Regions from separate parts of the Homo sapiens genome. Here region 1 is linked to region 2. Evidence: promoter capture Hi-C in 16 types of primary human blood cells and fetal thymus (Javierre and others, 2016). All regions are on one chromosome and are shown on one strand. Each heading gives the region's core, a stretch centred on a gene start or on the middle of the fragment in contact. The rest is flanking DNA. Distances are from core to core; before and after follow the strand shown.

The links. The method cuts DNA at HindIII sites, captures the fragments that hold promoters and counts their contacts. A CHiCAGO score of 5 or more calls a contact.
Region 1: a contact is called between the fragment with the promoter of LYPD4 here and the fragment with the promoter of ERFL in region 2, in 12 of 17 cell types (non-activated CD4 T cells, total CD4 T cells, activated CD4 T cells and 9 more). The highest score is 12.1, in non-activated CD4 T cells.

The regions. Positions count from the first base shown.
Region 1 is chr19:41,842,815-41,846,865 of GRCh38, reverse strand. It overlaps LYPD4 (LY6/PLAUR domain containing 4), which reads left to right and starts at 2,183. Exons shown (of 5, transcript NM_173506.7): 1 at 2,183-3,288. DMRTC2 (DMRT like family C2) reads right to left here and starts at 1,824. Exons shown (of 9, transcript NM_001040283.3): 1 at 1,765-1,824. The HindIII fragment of the contact is 15,469 bases long and covers 1-4,051 here.
Region 2 is chr19:41,926,416-41,930,215 of GRCh38, reverse strand. It overlaps ERFL (ETS repressor factor like), which reads left to right and starts at 1,767. Exons shown (of 6, transcript NM_001365103.2): 1 at 1,767-2,176. It also overlaps a transcript of ARHGEF1 not described here. RefSeq lists an enhancer at 870-1,370 and a silencer at 1,642-1,821. The HindIII fragment of the contact is 35,384 bases long and covers 1-3,800 here.

The sequences.
Region 1 (4,051 bases), core at 934-3,433, 84 kb after region 2:
GCCGGGTGCGGTGGCTCAAGCCTATAATCCCAGCACTTTGGGAGGCCAAGGCGGGTGGATCACAAGGTCAGGAGATCGAGACCATCCTGGCTAACACAGTGAAACCCTGTCTCTACTAAAAATACAAAAAATTAGCTGGGCGTGGTGGCGGGTGCCTGTAGTCCCAGCTACTCCAGAGGCTGAGGCAGGAGAATGGCGTGAACCCGGGAGGCAGAGCTGGCAGTGAGCCATGATCGCGCCACTGCACTTTAGCCTGGGTGACGGAGCAAGACTCTGTCTCAAAAAAAAAATTTTTTTTTAATTGTTTTTTATTTTTATAGAGACAAGGTCTCATTATGTTTCCCAGGCTGGTCTGGTCTCGAACTCCTGGGCTCAAGCGATCCTCCTGCCTTGGCCTCCCACAGTGCTAGGATCAGAGGCATGAGCTGCTGCGCCCGACATTCTGTATTCTTTCAATTCAAACATTCTTTTCTTTCAATCCAAACACTTTCCCACCCACACACACATCCTAGGTTCCAACCTACTCATGTCCTCACATACCCCTTCAGCGAGTCCTACATCCCCTTTTCACAAGCACCCTGTTCCGTCCCAACAGTGTTTCCTGGCATCCTCTTCAACAATGCTCACCCCACTCTCATGCATTCATCCAATGCCTACCAGTAGTTTTATGCCCCTTTCAATTCTTAGTTCAATTTCAATTCTTAGTCTCATCTATGCCCTGCAAAGCAACTGCCTCCTTGCATTCCTTTAGTCTTATTTTGTTCTTGTACCCCTTTAAATCAGAACCCTCTCTTGCACCCCCAATAATTACCTTATTCTCATGGATTCCCTGCTCCACTTTCTTTTTTTTTTTATTGACAGGGTCTCGCTCTGTTGCCCAGGCTGGAGCGCAGTGGCGTGATCATGGCTCACTGCAGCCTCCACCTCCTGAGCTCAAGCAATCCTCCTGCCGCAGCCTCCCCAGTAGCTGGGACTACAGGCTGGAGCCACTATGCTTGGCTCCCCTGTCCCACTTTCTTTCTTTCTTTTTTTTTGTTTTGAGATGGAGTCTCACTCTGTAGCCCAGGCTGTAGTGCAGTAGTGCAATCCCGGCTCACTGCAACCTCCGCCTCCTGGGTTCAAGCAATTCTCCTGCCTCAGCCTCCCGAGTACCTGGGATTACAGGCCTGTGCCACCACGCCCGTCTAATTTTTGTATTTTTAGTAGAGATGGGGTTTCACCATGTTGGCCAGGCTGGTCTTGAACTCCTGACCTGCCTCAAGCGACCTGCCTGCTTCGGCCTCCCAAAGTGTTGGGATTACAGGCATGAGCCACCGCACCCGCCACCTGCCCCACTTTCAAGTTATTTTCCTTCACTCCTTCATTCATTCCACAAATGGTTACTGAGCCCCTGTCATGTGCTAGGCCCTGATCTGGGCCAAAAACCTTCTCCTTGGGGCACTAATGTCTCTCTTGCGCTCACACCTTATTCAGGTTTTTGTGTAAACATGTGAAGTCACTGTGTCCAGCGCTTCCTGCTCCTGTGGCCACTACCAACAATTAATTTCATGCATGTCCCCCTCCCCCCTTCCCGTGCCCCAGGGAGCGAGTGGGGAACCGGGAACGCGCCAAGGGGCCCGCGAGGCAGGGAAGGGGAGAGGGGGCGCGAGGGCGGGAGGGGCGCGAGGGGGAGGAGAGGGGATGCCTGGGTTAGGGAGTCCGGCTAAGAGGGAGGAGGACGGAAAGGCAGGAGGGACCGTGTTCGTGCAGCTAGTTCACGGTTACCACAGCCTCCAATGGAGTCAGATTCAGTCAAGAAGACGCCCAAAGACACTGTGAGAAAGTGGCCAGAGGAACCGCCAAGCTCGCGCTGCTTTTCTTACCCTGTCTCACAAAGACCAATGAACTTCAAGCATCGCCTCTCTCAGCCGAGGCAGACGACCAATGCGGTTTGAGATCCTGAACTGATGTCCCGCCCCTTCCCTTCTGCCAGCTTCTTGGCGCACAAGACTATCAGTCCCACCAATAGCGCTTCGAGTTGAGCCTCGCGCCACCGCTGCCTCTCCCTCCGCACGTCCTGCCCGCCCAGACTGTCTTCCCCCTTTCGAGGCAGGTGGCCAATGGGGCGTCGAGTACCCCTTATTGGACCGAGGCTGGCCCCGCCCCCCAGGAACGGCCCGCCTGGCCCCGCCCCTGGGGCGTTGACCAAGCCCGGTCTGTGCACGGGTTGCCTCGTTTCTGGCCTTCCCTTGCCTTGTACCTCGACTTCGCGCGTGGCTTGTTTTTGCTGAGTGGAGGCCTGCGTTTTCTGTTATGTCTCTTCCGGTGCCCCACAACTCCTGAGCTACCCTTCTTTTATGCGTTCTCTCCCAGCGCTGTGATTACCGGGTTGCTTACCGGGCCCTCCTTCCTCAGATTGCACCCCTTTCCTTGTGTCTCTTCTTGTCTTTGTGTCGGTTGTGATTTTCCTAATCTCTGATTTTCCTTTTCTCTCGGACGCTCTCCCTCTTCGGACCCATTTTCTCCCGTGCTTCATGCCCTGATAGCCTGGCCCCTTCCCGGCTTCCTTCGCTACCGGGGACGCCTCTAGTTTTTCTGAATTTCTGGCTGGCTCCACCCTCCGCGTTCATCTTCCTCAAGAGTTCGCCCCTCTGGGGGCTCCTCTGTGTAATCGTCGCCTTCTCTGGGTATTTCTGTGAACTCCGTCTCACACCATCCCGCCATCTTCTCTGCCTTGGCCCCTTTTCTCTGTACAGCCAGCTCTGTGTCCTTTTCTTCTCCCCCTCTAAAATCGACTCCTCTTCTCCCTGAGAGCCCCACCTTTGTGCCCCACTCCTCATTTTCCTACGCCTCCCTCTCTCTGCTGGTCCTCTCTCTCCCTGCAAGGTTCCATTCCATCAATTTGTTTGTCTTTTGTAGGGGTGGCATCCCCTCTGACTACTGCTCCATCCTTTTTTTTTTTTTTTTTTTTTTTTTTTTTGCTTGAGGATTTCACTTCAATCTTTTCTGGTTGCGTCTCCACTTGTACTCAGCTTGTTAGGTCCAGGTCCAGTTGTTCTGCATCTGAGGCTGGCGTGTGCTGTCTTCTCTGATTGGCCTAATCTCCCTCACCCCCGTGAGATCTGTTGTCAGCCTTCGTTTCTCTTTCCTGTGTCCCAGCTTTTCTGCGGGTCTTGGCACCTTTCTTGGCCACAGATTTCTGGGTTACAGAGCATGTGTGTCTGAGGCATTGCAGGCAGAAAAGGGTGGCCGACGTGACCTCTAGCTGGACTGCTGGGCAGGGGAGCTGTCCTAGATAAAATTGGAAAGGTTGGGTGGCGCTTATCTGGGGTGGGGTGGGGTGTGGTCGGGGGAGGCTTAAAGGCCAGCTAAAGAGGTTGAACTTGATCCTTTAGGTAGTGGAGAGAGAGTGAGAGGAAGTGTGTGTGGGAGGGAGGGATAGTGGTAGAGGAACAGGGTAACCAACGATTATAAAGAGCTTAGCATTTGCCTAATACTTATGGTAATAATTTTATTGATCTTCACAATGACCCTATGAGATGTATTATACTTCATTTTATAAAGAAGGTAGTAGGCTCTGAGTTCAACAAATTGGACAGCTAGTAAATGAAGGGGTAAAGATTCCAACCTGGGTCTCTGAGGCCAAGGTCAGTGATCTTTGTACCCCCTCCTACACTGTTATTTTCCACCAATTCCCCACTTTCATTCCCTAACCTTCTTATAGGCAATTCTCATTCTAAGGTGGTTAATATGTATCTTTTGGTTTGTGTGTGTGTTCTCCCAGGATGTGTGTAGTGTTGTTGTTGGGGTTTTTTTTTTTTTTTTTTTTTTTTTTTTTTTTTTTTTTTTTTTTTAGCGATGGGGTTTTGCCATATTAACCAGGCTGGTCCAGAACTCCTGGCCTGAAGTGATCTGTCTGCCTTGGCCTCCCAAAGTGCTGGGATCACAGGCATGAACGACCACACCCGACCTCTGTTTGAGTTTTTAATTTATGCAAGTGATATTATGTTATATACTATTTGTAATAATCAGCACTGTGATTTTACAATCTATCCATGTACACATTCTGTCA
Region 2 (3,800 bases), core at 518-3,017:
AGCCTGTTGGCTCCTTGAAAGAATGTTCCCTTTCAGACAAGTGAAGGTACAGACAAGTGAAGGAATTCTTGTTATCTGGCAAAATTCTTAATATTTTTAATGAGATTATTCGGAAGCAGCAAGCTCACAGCAAATGCGTGTTTACTTGGTACTTGGTGCAGTACCAGCTGTGCTCCATGCGCCCTGCGGTTTAACCTTCCCAACCACTCTAGGAGGGAGGTCATTATTGTCCCATTTTGCAGATGAGGAAACTTGAGGCTCGGGGATGTTTAGCGACTTGCCTGAGTGAGTGGTGAGCGGGAGTGAGGCTGAACCTTCTCTGTCAGGCAGGGCTGAAGTTCTCTTCTAGCCTCTCAGCACCTCGGTCTCAGCACCTGGGCGCTGGTGGGGTTGGTGAGATCCGACAGAGCTGTCCTGGCCCCTGAATATCCACCTGGGGACTGCTGTCTTGCCGTGAGACCTATTTTCCCCTCTAGGGGTAGAAGCCTCCAGGGGCTGCCCAGGTGAGAGCTGCCTTTCCCCAGAGAAGGTGGTGTGGGACTTGGCGGGGCGGAGCCTGACCTGGGAATGGGAGAGAAAAGTCGGGGGTGGTGGGTTGGGGAGTGGAAGCGGGAGAGAGGGCAGGGTGAGGGGCAAGGGGCGAGGGGCAAGGGGCAAGGGAGGGAATAGGAGGGTAGACAGTGAGGGTGAGGGTCAGGTTGGGCCAGGAGGTCCGGCCGGCCGGGAGCTGAACTGTGGGTCTGACCCGCCCTGAGGCTGGTCGATATTGACTTGTTATTTCAATGGGAGCAGATCTGGCTGGGCAGGGCCCTTTCCTGTCACTGTAGGTGTGCGTGTGTGTGCCTGTGACCTTGTGGGAGTGTGAAGGGGAGTGTCAGTGTGCCAGCCCTGGGTTCTGCCTATGTGTTAGTGAGGGCTTGTGTGTCCAGGCTGTGTGTTGGGAGTGGAGTGTGGCTGTGTGTGCATCTGGTTGTCTTTGTGTCCAGTTTGTGGGTCAGTGGATCAGGGAGTGGCTGTGGGTTGGGGAAGGTGTGGTGTGCAGGCTGTGTTTGTGCATATGTTTCTCTGTGTGTGCCTGAATGTCTCCGTGTACCGGTTGTGTTTCCACTTCCTGTATTACGGTCCGCATGTGTGTGCTGCGTGTATAGATGGCAGGTCTGTGTGTGTGTGTCTGTGTCTGTCTCTCTGTAGGGTTGTGTGTCCCTGAGTGTGTGTTTGCACTGTCTTACTGTATCCATATGTCCCTCTGTCCGTGTATCTCCTATCCAGGCTGCGTGTGTGCGGGTCCGTGTTCCAGTCCCGGTCCAGGCTTGCGTGTCCAGCAGGGGTCCTGGACGCATCGTCGCCACCTCCACCTCGCGCCTGTCCGTTTGTCCGCGCGTCCACTTAGGGAGGAGCGGGGCGGAGGAGAAGGGAAGGGGAGAGGAGGGGGGTCTCTCCACCTCTCCACCCACCCCCGCCCCACCCCCACTCCCTCAGTCCCGGGATCGAACCTTATTTAGAGTCGCGATTCGACATCTGTTTTCAAATTTGATCAGCTCTGAACTTTATTTTCCGAGTTTGAGGAAAATTATATTCCATCGATCGCGCCCCCGCCCCCTCCCCCGCGCCGCCGCCGCCGCCTCCATATATCTGCGAGCCGAGCCCGGCCGGGCGGCCGCGAGGGCGGGAGGCGCGCGGCGCGCAGAGGAGTGGAGGGAGGAGGAGGAGAACGAGGAGGAGGAGGAGCAGGAGGAAGAGGAGGAAGAGGAGAAGGCGCAGGAGGCAGGGCCGCCCCGCGCCCCCAGCCGGCCAGGCTGTCCCCGGCGCGCGCCCGCCCGCGCTCGCTGTGCTGAGCTCCAGCCCGGAGCTCCGTCCTCAGCTCTCCCCGTCTCTGCTCTCTTTGCGCGTCTATCTCGCTGTCTCTCTCCCTCTCTGCATCTCCCCGTCTCTGCTCGTCTCCCCGTCTCTGTCTCCTTGGCTGTCTCTCCGTCTCTGAGTCTCTCCTGTCCCGGCGTCTCAGAGACTCCCTCTCCTCGTCCTCTGGGTCTCTGCCTCCCCGGGGCTCCGGGCATCTCCCCCCACCCCGCCCCTCGCCCCGGTGCCCCCTCCCCAGGACGCCGCGGGGGCCATGGCTGCGGGATCCGAACTTTAAACACTTCTCCCCGGACCGGAGCGGATGCGAAAAGCCCAGAAAGTGAGTGAGCGCCGCGGCCGGCGCAGGGGCGGGGAGGGGGCGGGGATTCCCGCCCCAGGAGGGGGCGGGCGCGGGGGTGGTCCCGGGAGGCCTGAGAAGCTGGGCCTCCGAGCCGGTGGAGGGGTAGGCGGATGGGGTCATCCGCCCCGGCTGTAAGGGGCAGGTGGGGCAGCGCCCAACTCTGGGAAGGTGGGAGGCGGGTAGCGCTAGAGGTGCGGCCTCGGGACAGGGGTGCGAGATTTGGGGGCGGGGAGGGAGAGCGAGTGAGAGCCACGGAGATGGGGTCTGCAAGAGACTGGACTGAAAATCTGGGAACGGGGGTTGGTGGCCGACCTGAAGGTGGATTTGGATGTTTGGGGCTGAGGAGTCTGGATATTTGGGGCTAGATTCTGAGTGGGGTTTAGAGGTCAGGGCTGAGGGCTTGCATATTTGGGACCTAGGGGCTCAAAGCCAAGAGACTGGACACTTGGGGCGGAAGATCTAGATATCTGAGGTTGGGAGCTGACTGGGGCTGGGAGTCAGGACTGGGGGTGTGGATATCTGGGACTGGGGATCAGCATAGGAGTTTGGACTTGAGGGGGCCAGAAGTCTGGATTTGGAGTTGGAGTTCAAAGCTAAGGGTCTGCGAATTTGGATCTGGATATCTGGGGTCTGGATATTTGGTATGAGGGGTCACAGGGTCTGTGGGAAGGACATTTGGGCCAATTCTGGGGTCTGCACACTTCGGGGCAAGGAGTACAGGCCTGGCCCTGACCTTCGTGGGGCCGGGGCCCTCTGGGACACCCTTTCTATCATTCCACCACTGTCGCAGGGCCCTGCTGGGCCACTTCTGTTATCTCTCCCCTGGCTGGGTCTCTCCTCACTGTCTCTCTGTCTCTGTCTCTCACAGCATCTCTGTGTCCACCTCTAACTCTCCCAGGATCTGTCTCTCTATCTCTGTCTCTCACAGCATCTCTCTCTTCCTTTTTGGGTCCAACTCTTAAGACTATCTCTCTCTAAATCTCTGTGCTTATCTCTCCCTGTGTCTCTTCCTTTCTCGGCATCTATCTCTCTCTCTTCCTTTCTCGGCATCTCTTTCTATCTCTCTCTCTCTGCCTCTTTCTGTCTCTTACTGTCTCTCTGTCTCTGTCTCTCCCAGCATCTCTGTCTCTGTCTCCCCCTCGCTGGTTTCCGCTCAGATTAAGCCGGGGACCTAATTCCAGGCCCAGGATCGAATTTTCTGGCAACAAAGGGAAATAGCGAATCGATCGGTCGCTCTGGAGATTAAGAGACAAGCGGCGCGCGGATCTATCACGGCTAAACGGCCCCCCCGCCCGCTCCCCCCTCCCGGCCGGCCGCCGCGGCCCAGACGCGCTCCGCATCGCCAAGCAGCCTCAGGGGCCCTGGCTGCCCGGCAGGCCAGCAGGCCAGGCCTCGCCTAGCCCAGAGCTAACTCTGTGCCCCACCCAGGGCCAGAGCCACGGGAGGGACCCGAGAGCCAGAACTGGCTCCCCAGGGAGGGGAGGACAGGGGAGCGAGAGAAATCGAGGTGGCAGACCATCTGGCAGAGTCACACTGCACCCACCTGTGGCCTCAGGTAACTAACCTTTCACACCTGTCTATCAATGCACCTGTCACATCCATG